Regions from separate parts of the Homo sapiens genome. Here region 1 is linked to region 2. Evidence: promoter capture Hi-C in 16 types of primary human blood cells and fetal thymus (Javierre and others, 2016). All regions are on one chromosome and are shown on one strand. The core of a region is centred on a gene start or on the middle of the fragment in contact, and the rest is flanking DNA. Distances in the headings are between cores, read along the strand shown.

What was found. Contacts are between HindIII fragments. The CHiCAGO score rates a contact against its expected background, and 5 or more counts as called.
Region 1: a contact is called between a fragment that was not itself captured here and the fragment with the promoter of MANBA in region 2, in 1 of 17 cell types (neutrophils). The highest score is 5.2, in neutrophils.

What each region holds. Positions count from the first base shown.
Region 1 is chr4:101,352,156-101,359,051 of GRCh38, forward strand. No RefSeq gene overlaps it. Among named protein-coding and RNA genes, the nearest start is that of PPP3CA-DT, 7.8 kb to the left of the region's middle. The HindIII fragment of the contact is 7,175 bases long and covers 1-6,544 here.
Region 2 is chr4:102,756,366-102,763,797 of GRCh38, forward strand. MANBA (mannosidase beta) reads right to left here and starts at 4,603. Exons shown (of 17, transcript NM_005908.4): 1 at 4,353-4,603. The coding sequence starts at 4,529. RefSeq lists an enhancer at 4,198-4,547 and a silencer at 4,638-4,767. The HindIII fragment of the contact is 23,862 bases long and covers 789-7,432 here.

The sequences.
Region 1 (6,896 bases), core at 1,707-4,206, 1.4 Mb before region 2:
CTGCAAAGTAGGACAGTCAATCCTGATAGGGCCATGAATGTATATGAGACTTTGATTTATTATCTTAAAGCTAATTCCTGTGACATTTCCTTCTCACATTTTCTAGTTCTACCCTACTTCCATAGAGGTTCTATGAAATATGCTATTCTACATAGATCTAATTTGAGGTTCAAACTAAAAGGAAGTTTTATTACCTATTTTTTTATTGCTCTTGAAATTTTGTTGAGCCTTGTTTCTTTCAGAAGGCAGTTTTACCCATTTAAAGAAGTTATTTTTCAAGGAACATTAAAAATTTTTGTATCAAATGTATTCAGGAATAAATTTAATTTTTTCCCATTAGGATTAAACTATAATTTATGGAATTATATGCTAAGTGTAATACAGACAGATATATTTTATGTAAAATTTGACAAGACAATCTGTGATCATTATACATTTGTATTTAATAAATTTTCATATTTATTTTATTTATTAATATGTTTGTATCATCATCTCATATCCTAGTTTTGGGCACAGAGTAGGTGCTCAACAAATTTTGTTGAATGAATTTTTAAAATGTATTGGTGTCCACTATATAAGTTACTAGCCTAAGTAACATTGTTCCTACTCTCAGAGAAATTTCAATATGACCCATGAAATTAAAAACATGCATCCCCACCCCTACACACACACACACACACACACACACACACACACACACACACACACATATATGCTGGAGAGAAATGTTATTAGTCCTTTCTCTTACTTTGAATTCTAATTTTATTACACATTTTGAAAATTATGAATAAATTAATGGTTCCAAGTCATAAATGTTTGCATTTAAAATATATGTGCTATTATATTTTTAAACATCCAAGAAATATACATGCTGTAAAACTTTATGTATTATGGATTCTCTAAACTTAGAATTTCAGAATATTTGACATGAAATGAGCTAAGTTTATATTTTAGGTGCTTTGAGAATAACTTCAACAATACCAGCAAAAGGCTTACTAATCAAACTACAGGTACAGACAAATTATAGGAGACCTGGTAAATCAATTTAGGAGAAAGTTTGTCAGAGCCTTTAAAAGCACATTTGCATATACAAAATCAATATAAGAATTAGTAACGAGTTTCACTCATCTAAGTTGGCAAAGACATATTTTTTACTTGAAACAGATTTTGCCAATTATTGATTAAAAATTGCAAGTAAATATTCTACCATTTAGAAGAATTGGCTAGCCTTCTTTCCATTTACTTCCAATTAGTGAGATTTTTTTTTTTACTACTGTTCATGGCTAGTGGAAGGCATATATTCACAAGGTATTTACTGAGACTGGGTGTGGTGGCTCACACCTATAATCCCAGCACTTTGGGAGGCCAAGGTGAGTGGATCACCTGAGGTCAGGAGTTTGAGACCAGCCTGGCCAACATGGTGAAACCCCATCTCTACTAAAAATATAAAAATTAGCCAACCATGTGGCAGCTGCCTGTAGTCCCAGCTACTTGGGAGGCTGAGACAGGAGAATCGCTTGAACTTGGGAGGTGGAGGTCACAGTGAGCCGAGATAGTATCATTGCACTCCAGCCTGGACAACAGAGCGAGACTCTCTCTCAGGAGAAAAAAAAGGGGGGGTATTTATTGAACACCTATACGTATCAGGCACTAGGAATATAATATGAAAAAAAGCAAAGCAAAGTGTCTGCCCTCATAAAACTTATGTTCTAGTGAGGAGAGACAGATAATAGTAAAGAACAATTAATAACAGTTACACACACACACACACACACACAACATGTCAGGCAGACTAAGTAATAAGTGCAAACAATGCATAGTGGTAAGAACATTGAGGGAAGTGATGAGAAGAAGGGTACTATAGTCAGCCCTCTGTATCTGTGGATTCTACGTTCATGGATTCGACCAACTTTGAATCAAAAATATTTCGGGAAAAAAGATAACTACTTGTATACTGAATATGTGCAGACTTTCTTTTCTTGTCATTATTTCCTAACAAGACAGTGTAGAAACTATTTACATAGCATTTACATTGTGTTAGCTATTATAAGTAATATAGAGATGATTTTAAATATACAGGGGGATGTGCAAAGGTTACATGCAAATACTACACCATTTTATATCAGGGATTTTAGTGTGTGTGGATTTGGGTATCCTCAAGAAGTCCTGGAACCAAACTCCACAGATACTAAAGTACCACTGTACTTGTTGTAGACAGCTTGGACTGGGAAGTCCTCTCTGAGAAGGTGATATTTGAACAGAGATTCAAATGAAATAATGAAGATATTTATGCCACTATGTGGAAGAAGAGAGTTCCCAGTAAAAGGAACTGCATATGCAAAGGTCCAGAGTTAAGAGTCTGGTTGACATGTTTACAAACTCTGAAAGGAAGCCAGGGTAGTTGGAGCAGAATGAACTCGAAAGAGTGGTACAAGATAAGGTTAGGGAGATCATGAAAAGTCAGATTATGTAGGGCCTTAACCATAGGAACGACTGAATTTTATTCTGGGTGAAATGAAAGGGATTTTGTTAGGAAATGATATGATAGGACTTAAGTTTAAAGAAAACAATCATTCTTTGGTAAAAACTGACCCTGGATGTAATGGAGGGAAGGAAGAATGAATAGATATGGGAAGATGTAGTTAAAGGACTATTGTCATAATCCAATAGAAGTAAGGTAGTTTGGGTTATATAGTTTAGAAGACAGTGGTGAAAAGCATCCAATACCAAAAATGCATTTTAAAAGTAGAACTAACAGAATTTGCTGATGGATTGGATACAGGATGTGAGAAAAATAAAAAAGAAGAATCAAGAACTACAAGATTTTGAGTCTCAGCAAATGGAAGATAAGAGTTAACATTTACTAAGAAAGAAAACATTAGAAATGGACAGCATATTTGCTGGAGAAGATCTAAAGTTAGCTTTAGATATGTTAACTCTGAGGCGCATATTGTACATGGAAGTGGAAATGGCATGTGGGCAGTCGGATATATAAGCCTGAACTTGAAAGTCTTGTGTATAAAATTGGAAATCGTGGGCATAATAGTGCTTTATTTCAGTTAGAAGGTAGGAAGAATAGGAGGTTCCAGCAAAACCAACTGAAAGAAGCAGCTTCTGGGATTGAAAGGTAACGTCCCCACAGTCAAGCAAATGAATTGTGTCAACCATGCTGATAGGTTAAGTAAAATGACAACTGAAATTTGATTGTTGATTTTAATAAAAAGAGAAATTATTTGTGATCTTGACAAGGTAGACTTGTATACCTAACAAAAATAGCACCTCATCACTCTCTGCCTCTTTATAGGGTTTCAGTTCCTTTTCAGTATTTATAACTACTTGACGTTGCATCTGTATGTGTGCTGTGTTTGATTTATTTGTTTGTTGGTCTTCTGTCATCTACTTAGATAATATGAACCTTGAGAGCAGGGACTTTGTTTTGTTCCCAATTGAATTTCCATCGCCTGTAACATGCCTACCATATTCCAGGTGCTTAATATATGTTTGTTGAAAAAAAACAAATATTTGATTACAATGTTAGTCTGGGTTAGTTTTTCTAACCTTCTAAATAGTTTAAATAAGCATTTCAAATATTTTTAGGAAAAACTAAAATTTCACATTTAGATTTTTTAAAGTTACAGAGTCAACTTTCGTAGAGAGTGGACTCAGGCCTTGAGGATGACAGATGGAATTCAGGAGTTTAGTTTTTAGCACGAGGTGTGTCTCTCACACATCCGTACTGTAAGAATAATTACTTATATAGATCCAAGGGAAGACACAGTATTACTCATATTTCTTCCTTCTCCAAATACACAAAGGGTTCTATTGTTTGCTTGCAACATCTAAGCTATTCCCTGGTGATAAGTTAGGACAGATAGCAGCAATTTTCAGAGAGGAAGTGGATACGGTTTGGGTTATGGTTGTTTAGGAGCAGTCCTCAAAAGAGTTTCCCTCTCTATTTCAGGGTGTTACCTGTGCCCAGCCCAAAGAAATCTAGTCTGTCTTAGAAATTGTGTTAATATGCTTTAGGGTGCCCGTCCTGCCCATATCCCTGCTGTAGGTAAAATGCCTCAGTAGCCTCACCTGCCAAGTGATCATCAGGTCACAGGTTTAATTACTGCCATTACAGGGGATTGGACTAGGGTGGATGAACATCTGACTAGGGGGTACCTATGGGCTGGTAACCTTTAACTTCCCTAATCTAATTTGCACAAGTAAGCTAGATTAATCAGATGCCTTCTGTGAAGGGCTTGCCCTTAAAATTCAAAGGAAAGTGTACGGTTATTGTTTGAATAAAGGGAAATGCAGGCTGGGGTTAACGTAGCCACTAGCACATGATTCATGTGCAAGGCATGTAAACAGATGAAGCCATTCTGGGTAGAGGGGTAATAGGTCAGATTCAACAGGGGCGGAGAGAGCAGAAAGAGACATTTCAAAATCTGTGTTCTTTTTGTCCTTCCAAGGCATCATTGTTTAATTTTTTTCTGGATATATAAACCCCTCAATACCCTTACAATAAACCCTATTTTCTACAGCTAGTTTGAGTGTTATGTTCCTTACAACCAAAGACCCCTAAAAAGAGCCACTAAGATTGTTACTTTACGCCCTCTGTAAGTTTTCACCTACTGATTCTGGTGCTTATGGCAATGCTCTTCTTCAGCAGACAATGACCATATTCTACCTTCATCCTTGCCCATACCATTGTTTCTATAGCACACTCAGTACAAAAAAATTAAAGGAGAAAAATTAGTATGGATGGAAAGAGGGATAGATAGACTCTGACTAGGCAGTCTTGGGGAATTTTTGAGCTATTGACTGAATATTCTCCATGCCTATTGCCATGTCATCATCAGGCAGGTTATAGGCTATGCTGCAGTAAAAATGGAAAATCTTGGTAGCTTAACAAAAGTTTGAATTTCTCTGCAGGTCTGGGCAGCCCTCCAGGCTGACTCAGCATTCCAGCCTCCTACAATCAGATAGCACAAATATTAACACCTGGTTCCACAGTCACCCAACAGGGCTGGAGAGGGCTGAAGGTCTAAGCCCTAGCAATCAAATGCTTCTGCCTGGAAGTGATACTCATGAATGACCACACTCACATTCCATAGGCTGAATTCATCATTTGGCTAAACCTAATTTCAAGGGAGGCAGAGTTATGTGATTCTCCCACATGTCTGAAATTAGAGATCAAACATTTATAAAGGGTAATAATGCCAATCAGCGTATCTAAATAACCCATCTAATCCTGTGGGACCCATATGCTACTCATTACAACCCAGTGACTAGGACATTTGTCTTATCTGTTTCACATGCCACAGTTAGTCCTGGAATTACTGTGGAACATACGCGCACACACACACACACACAAAACATATTACTAAAAATTAAAGTTTTTAATTAAAATTTTTTGGGTAAAAATTTACTTTTTGTTCCTCATTCATGACCTAAGAATTTCTGTTCTGCTAAATATATACTACCTACCTCCCGTGTAATTGTAATGCATAGTCAGCTATCTAAGGTTGGAGTACCTAGATGCGGACCCTGAGATAAATATTCATATAAAGGTGATTTATTAAAAAGTGTTCCAAGGAAAAACCAGGGGGGAAGCAGGAAAAGTGACAGGGAAGGGAAGAAAGCCAAGCAAGGGTGATATGTCAAGCAAAGATGGTTAACTTTGGCCCAATCCTGTGGGGGTCCTCTGGAGACTTATAAGTCACACCTCTGAGCTGTTCCCATCAGGGAGCAGGGAGCTGAGTATTTGTACCACCAGGCTTGTGTGATCAGACTGCCTCGGAGAGATACGAATTCCTAGGCACTTCCTGCTCTCTCCACGTTTGGGCAAAGGCCAAGGAAGCCTGAGGACAGTGGTCTGACAAAGATGCAGATACAAGCACAGAGGGAGCTGCTGTGGAAATGGAAAAGTTTGGGACAGGCTCAGGGTTGAGGCACTGAGAGCATGTGCTAGTCAGAATTGATAGCCACTTGGATATAGAGGGATGGTGCAAGGAAAATGACCAGATCACCGACTTAAAGATGCAGTGGGGAAAAAACAATAATCTCTTCTTATCTCACTTCAGATTACTCTCCTTCTCCCACATCCACAATGAATTTACCATCCTAAGAATAAGGATGATGAATTTCCTGGGCAGATTCCTTCCCTGTTTCTAATCCCCAAATGATGTACCCTCCATTGCCCGAAATTCTTAACTCACGGAATATAGCATTTAATTCCTTGATAGGTAAAATGAAAATATTCCTAAAACAGGAAGTATATTGAGTCAACTCAGAACTGAGATCTGTCCCAGATATTTGCAGTACCCCTCTGCCCAGGCTGGGAAGGCATTAGGTGTATGTTGGATATTTTGTCTGCTCAGAAGCCTCATTTCAAAGATGACTTATCCACATGATTCTACATGACCCCATCTAAAGGTTATAGTACCATAGATCAAGACTGGATACATGTTGCCTTCTTTTCCCATGATATTTCTTTCTTTGGAAAACTGAATTCAGTCTTTTCTCTGGAAAACAGGTCAAACTGATACTAAGAAGCTTTCAGCAGCCGTGTTATTCTACCATATGGATTAGGAAAGAAGAGAAGGTGGTTCTACAGAAAAAAAAAAATGAATCAGTCATGCAGAAAAGAGCAAGCAAAGATGAAAGAAGGAAGACGGCTGGTATTCCATTTCCTGATCCCACTGTGTTCCCACGACCCAGCTACATGACAGCCCTTGGGGTCCATGAGACCCCCACAACATTCTTATAATTCATTAGCATTTTATGCTGGAGTTCGGTTGAATTTCAGTTATGTACAACCGAAGGGTAGTAAGTAATAAAGAAATGTATTCATAATTGCTAAAACTTGGAACCAACCAAGATGTTTTTCAGTAGGTGAATGGATA
Region 2 (7,432 bases), core at 3,353-5,852:
TCACAAGGACAGAAAACCAAACACCACATGCTCTCATTCATAGTGGGAATTGAACAATGAGAACACTTGGGCACAGGATGGGGAACATCACACACTGGGACCTGTCATGAGGTTGGGGGCTGGGGGAGGGATAGCATTAGGAGATATACCTAATGTAAATGAGGTTAACGGGTCAACGGGTGCAGCACACCAACATGGCACATGTATACATATGTAACAAACCTGCACGTTGTGCACATGTACCCTAGAACTTAAAGTATAACAAAAAAAGGGAAAAAATAAAAAATAAAAATAAATAAATATATAAAACTGTTGGGGGCATTAGTCACATGAACAGCTGTCAAAAAAAATAGTGGTTATCTCTGGGAGTGATGTTTCCAACCTTCTTCTTACTTATCTATATATTTTAATGTTGGCATACAGAGACTATCTAAAAAAAAAAAAAAAAAAAAAAAAGAAGCAGTTGCTTCAAAACTTACACCAGTGAGAAATTCCACAGAAAAGCTGAGAACATTCCTAACAAGGGTCCCTTTATGTATGCACTTAACATAACATATGGAAATTATTTAGTTTTCTGCCTCACTAAAGTGGCCTCCCACAAAATAGGAACTATAGTCTCACTCTCAATTTCTTTTTTTATTCCTAATGCCTATTACACTGTGTGGCATAATAGCAGGCTGAGGGCCAGGCACGGTGGCTCATGCCTGTAATTCCAGCACTTTGGAAGGCCGAGGCAGGTGGATGGCCTGAGGTTGGGAGTTCAAGACCAGCCTGACCAACATGGAGAAAGCTTGTCTCTACTAAAAGTACAAAATTAGCCAGGCATGGTGGCACATGCCTGTAATCCCAGCTACCTGGGAGACTGAGGCAGGAGAATCTCTTGAACCCAGGAGGCAGAGGTTGCGGTGAGCCGAGATAGTACCATTGCATTCCAGCCTGGGCAACAAGAGCGAAACTCCGTCTCAAAAAAAAAAAAATAGCAGGCTGAAGGAATAACTTTTCACAGAGAACCCAAAAGACTCTCTAAGAAACCAAAGGTTTAGATTCTGTACAGAAAACCCAGAGAATCACCTAGGAAATAGCCAAGACTAGCCACAGAATCTCTCACTAAATACAAATTTCATTTAACCAGCTCAGATAAAAAAAATCCTGGTATTTTCCTGCACCTCCCCCTTCTGTCTCCCAATCCATTAACAAATCCAACTGAAGAAATCCTCTTGTTTCTACATGTAAAACGTGTTCTCACAACCATTCTCACCATTTCACTGCCACCATGCTTGTCCAAGCCAGAAGTCATCTCTTGCCCATACATAGACCAGCAATAGTCCCCTGGTTGGTCTCCAGGCTTCCACTCTCCTGCACTGTAGCCTTCACACAACAGAGTGACCTTTAAAAAGGCAAATCTAATCATGCTACTCTAAGCTCAAAGCCTCCAATAACTTCCCATCACATGTAGAATAAAAGCCAAAGTGTTTCCTATGGCTCACAGCCTTTCATGATGTGCCCTAGACTTTGAACTCCTCTCCTACCCTCTGGTTCCCAGGTCTCCAGCCACACTGGCCTGCTGACTATTCCTGAAACTTGTCAAGCTCGTGCCTGCCTCAGGGCCTCTATCCTCCCCACTCCTGTGTTTTTCCTCTTTGCTGGAAATGCACTTCTCCTTAAAAGTGACCTTTTCAAACAGGTCTTTTTGTTTAGAAGTCACCTTATCAAAATACCTATCTTGAACCACTTTTTAAAAAATAGCAATGCTTTCCAACCAGCCTTCACTGTCTCTTCCTTTAACCTGCTCAATTTTTCTTCAGTGTGCCACCTGCCTTACATTATTTATTAATTTGGTATATATGTCTATCTCCTCCATTAGAATGTCCATTAGGGAAAGGACTTTGTTTTCTTTACCACTCGATTTCAAGTACTTAGAATAGTGCCTGCCACATTAGAGGTACAAAATAAATATGAGATAATTAACTAGGTGAATAGATAAATAAATGAATGATATCACCAAGATATGTTTCAAGTTCTTACACAAACACAATATTTGGCCCAGTGTCTACTATAAACGGTAGAATATTTCCTCAAGTCAACACCAAAAAGGGATGTTATAATAAAGCAGGTCGGACAACAGTCTCACATTACTGAATAACGATACTGATCTGATGTTGATGATTGCTTCTTTACTTTTTTTCTTTTTTTTTTTTTTTTGAGAGAGGGTGTCACTCTGTTGCCCAGGTTGGAGTACAGATCACGGCTCACTGCAGCCTCAACCTCCTGGGCTCAAACGATCCTCCCACCTCAGCCTCCCTCGTAGCTAGGACCACAGGTGTACGCCACCACGCCCAGTTAATTTTTTAATTTTTTGTAGAGACAGGGTCTCGCCAGTTGCCCAGACTGGTCTAAACTCCACCTACCTCTGCCTCCCAAGTGCTGGGATTATAGGCATGAGCCACTGTGCCCAGCCTGATGATTATTTTCAACAGGCCTTGTGTTTCCTAAGCCCCAAAAGCCTTCCCATTTCTCATTCCACTGCCATTTGAGACCCATGGCCACCTGATTGAAACCTCAAGGTTTTGCTAAGAATTTATGAAGAGAGTTAAGAAATCTCTTCAAATTGTTCCTATGAGGAAGTTATTTCATACTATGAGCAAATTCATTTTCATTAAGTATCTGTTGTAACCAAACGTTGTTTCTTAGCTTCTTAGCTCTGTAATATGGCACAATAATCTGACTTACTGAAGCCACTCATTATTTCCCATTGGCTTAATTCTTTCTTTCTTTTTTTTTTTTTTTAGAGATAGAATCTCTCTATGTTGGCCATGCTGGTCTTGAACTCTTGGCCTCAAGAAATTTTCCCACCTCGGCCTCATAGACTCTTTCTATGTTGGCCATGCTGGTCTTGAACTCCTGGACTCAAGGGATCCTCCTACCTTGGCCTCCCAAAGCTCTCACGTACCAGCACCCATTGGCTTAATTATTTCAGTAAAATCAGGCAAGGAGGAACCCTACAAAATAAACACAGGCATTCTCAAAGCAGATATAAGTGAAAACTCAGAGTATACTGTGGTCAGCTGTGTTCTCTATCACAAGTAGTTTGTCAACTTAAAATAAAGTACTAAAGTTTGGGAATGATCTACTCTAAAAATACATCGGACAATGGTCAATGTCATTTACAACATTCACCTCCTTTCTGATACACATCTCAGGAAAAAAAAAAAAAAAACTACTAAGTACCAGGTCAGAAATTTGGCACAACCCTAGATGACCACCTTGTCATGCAAATAAACTTAGAATGGTGCTCCTGAAAGTCAGCCACAGTGCTTCAAAAACACATGATTTTTTAAAACACCAAACTAAGCATACCACATAGTATAGAGACCAGGCTATGGAGTTGAGACCACCTGGGTTAGAATTCCATTTCTTTCCATTTAGTTGCTGTCACCTTCCTAATTTCTCTGTGTTCCATAATTCCATATTATCCATAAAATTCAGATATGAACACTTACTATACAGAGTTGTTATGAGGATTGGACAATGTATGCATCCCACAAGTAGATCAATTACAAGTACATTTTGCCCCAAGTAAAGACAACACGTGGGAACGCTGTGCAAGAGGGAACAGCAAAAGCAGTTGGAGGATGGAAGTCAGTTTGCAAACCTATGCGCACAGGCAGCCAAACACGAAAACGTTCCCCACAAGTAGTCTGTAAATTGGAGACTCCATTGGGATACACACACACACACACACACACGCCCTGAGAGGAAATAGCACCTTTCTTCATCACCAAGTTAGCCTTAAAAATTATTTACCCGTTGTTAGCCACACTAGCACTGACAAACCCAACTTTACTCTTGTAGGTCATTCTCCACAACGTCTGTGCTGCGTCAATCCCAAATCTGACTCCCTGACGCTTAACAGCGAAAATAAAAAACCGAGACATTACTCAATAGAGTTAACCCTTACTTAACAAAACGCTGTTGTCCCCTGTGGCGTGCAGACAGTAGAGACAGTAATTCCCGACCTTATGCTTGTCAGTGACGGCATGCCCTTTGTATACACGCTTCAGTAGAGAACGACTGCAGTAAGTAAACTGCTAGTAGCAACACTGTTCCCCTATCTAAACTTCCCCTTTCCAGAGTTACTGATGTCCCAACATGGGTCGGTCGCTCAGTCTCCGTCAAGCCCGTACCCCATAGCTTGGGCATTTCCCCCCGCAGATCACAAGATGCAAAGGGGAAGTTACTACCAAACCGACGAGAATGGCCCAGAGCTGGGGGCTGCCAGGCGGTTCCTGGGCCCCTCTCAGCACCAGAAGAAGGCGGGCGCAGGCTCGCCGCGGGTCGGCCGCACGCCATACCTGGATCAGGCCCTGCTGGAACAAGGCGCTGTGCACGCAGCCAGGGACCGCCCCGGGCAGCTCCAGCGAGCCGTTCCCATTGCAGATGCTCCAGTTGCCACGCAAGCTGTAACTGAGCTCCGCGGCGGTGGTGCCTGCACCGCACAGCGCGAGCAGCAGGAGCAGGTGGAGGCGCATCTTGAGATCCCGCGCCACCGAGATGTGGAGAGATCGAAAGGCAGCGCTGCAAGGGACCGGCGGTGAAGCCACTCACCCCCTCGGAAGTAGCCGAGGCTTTAGGTCCCCGCCCCGGCCCCGCCCCTAGGTCAGCTGAGCGCTCTCCGGGCGCAGCCGCGGGCGGGAGGGGAACGAGGAGGCTGCGCCTGCACCCGCTGAAAGCCGGGCGTCGCGGGTGCGGGAGCTGCAGCCCCCGAGAATAGCTACAGGCTGGGGGGCATTGCGGTCTGAGCCTTCCCTCGGCGCTTCTTCCCGCCGCCTCAGTACATACAACTGGAGGCAAGAATCTTGCACGGTAATTGGGACAGAAAGATCCCTGGGCGCGCAGTGGCACAAAGCCTCGGGAGATCAGAGACCGACTGTACGTGGAGACCATAGCTGGAGAGTCCCCTCACTCCTTCAGAGAACCCAAACTGGGAGACAACCCACCACTTCCCTTCCGCCAAATTTACACAGACCCTCGTCTACCTGGTAGCGTAACACTCACCCCGCTGCAGCTCAACTCGCGGGTCTCAGAGCCTACCCCGCCCTTCAAAGAGTAAACAAGTACTAGCAGTATCTCCATCAGAAGGTTGTTCTGAGGGCTAACCAAGAAAATGCGACTATAGCATGCAGCATGGAGCCTGGCCCAGAGAAGGCATTCACGTTAGCTATTGTTACTAGCGGCCTGCGTCCTTATGTTTCATAAAGCCCCACGGAGGTTTCTGAGGTTCTGGAACCTGCACTAGGCGCGCAGCTGAGTTTAAAATCCTCTGCACTCACTAGCTGTGGGACCTGGGCAAGCCGCAAAATCTCCATCTCCGTTTCTTGAAGTTTTCAAGGTGTTATAAGTATAAAATGAGTAAACATATGTGATCGTCCCTAACAATGCCAGAGTACCCAAGAAATACCACTGACTTATTTCGGGTCTTGTAGTCAAATGGTCTACCTGAGTCCCATTTTTGCAATAGGATGTAACAGTAATCCTAGAAGTTAAGACGGAATTTTACATTGCATAAAATAGACTGCCTTTCTCCTGTGTTGACGCTATCTGCCGTATATTTATGCTTCGGAAGAAGTCCTTGAAAAGAAATTTTCTCTCATCAAATCTGAGCTTTGTTTCGCCTTACAATGGCCTTGGAATTGCCTGATTCTGCAGACACCGGGCAATATCTTACTTTGCAAAGTCAGCATTATTTACAAGCCCTGAATATCTTGGCTTAAAGGACAGTATGGATTATCCAACCCAAGCCGCTGGCTTTACAGATGAGGGAACTGAGTTCAAAGAGATCGGGGCCAGGCGCGGTGGCTCACGTCTGTAATCCCAGCACTTCTGGGAGGCCGAGGCGGGTGGATCACTTGAGGTCAGGAGTTCGAGGCCAGCCTGGCCAACATGGTGAAACCCTGTCTCTATTAAAAATACAAAAATTAGCTGGGCGCGTGGTGGCACGTGCCTGTAGTCGCAGGTGCTCGGGAAACTGAGGCAGGAGAACCGCTTGAACCCAGGAAGCAGAGGTTGCAGTAAGCCGAGATGGCACTACTGCACTCCAGCCTGGGCTATAGAGAAAGACTCTAAAAAAAAAAAAAAAAAAAAGATCAGGTGACTTGCCTGTCACATAGTGGCAGACAGGATTAGAACCCTCCTCTTCAAGGTCCTACTGTCAGAGCCCAATGATGCTATAGGGGAAACGCTCTCACTGCTTCAAAGCCTTCCTCACTCACTCCAGAAGCATTTTTACCTTTGATAGAAACAAAGCTCTCAATTCAAATTATATGCCATAATTCACGGCATTAAATGGCTAGCCATGGTCTGTGCAACACTGATAACACAAGGTTTATGGCAACAAGAGCGGCAAAGGAATTTTTTCATAATTCCCAGAGATTTCATTAAGCCAAATCAGAGGAAAATTCATCCTTGATGATACATATGGATATATTCTGTTTATTAAGAAATATAATTTTTAGAAAAACAATAATAGAAGATTCTCATTCCTCCTTTCATTCCAGGATGCAAGCATAACATCATTTAGGTTACTTCACTTTGACAACAGAGAACATCAAAGAATAATCAAAGCCCTAATAAGTACTCTTCCTAAAATTGCAATTGGCACAGATGACATGATGTTTTCATTTTGTTATAGGATAATTTTTGTCCATGATTTTCTGGTAAATAAACCTTATTTAGAGATAACATAAAACTTCTCAACTTATGTAATTTAAAGTCATGATACCAAATGCAATGTTTAAAATAGTTATGGGTATCTTTAACTTACACTGTATAAACAGATTTCATTTTGATCATTTCATTTGATGCTTCCCAAAACTTGAATTATTTAGAACAAGTGATCGTTCCCTGGTTTAAAAAGATAAATAATGCCCACGGTGATTAAATGATGTGTAGGGTCAGTATCCTGTCACAACAGACCAATGGAAGTAGTTAGGCCCTTTGCTATATGACAACATTTCCTTCATATCTAAATATATAAAATTGGTAAACTCATTAGAACACCATGGTATATACCAAGGCCAATGATATTCCAATCCCATGATATATTACAGAAGTTATAATAAGGGAAAGAAAATGAAAGAGTAATCAGATGTGGAGTGGACATTTGCCTTTAGACTCATAGTGTCTGATTAAACCCCAGGACTGGGGATAATAGCCCATAAGTATCCTGCCCAAAGGTTTGACATACTTCCCCAGAGTTTGAAGCCCCAAATGTTAGAACAAAGAGAGAAGGTAGTGGAAACTATGTACACCACTAGAATTTGGTGTGTCAAGGATGCATATGCATGAGTTTCCTATAAACCAAGAGGACACCGTAGGAAGTAACCAGGCTTGAGCCAGTATAATGGGATTCTACCCAAGAGAGTCCAAGAAGTCA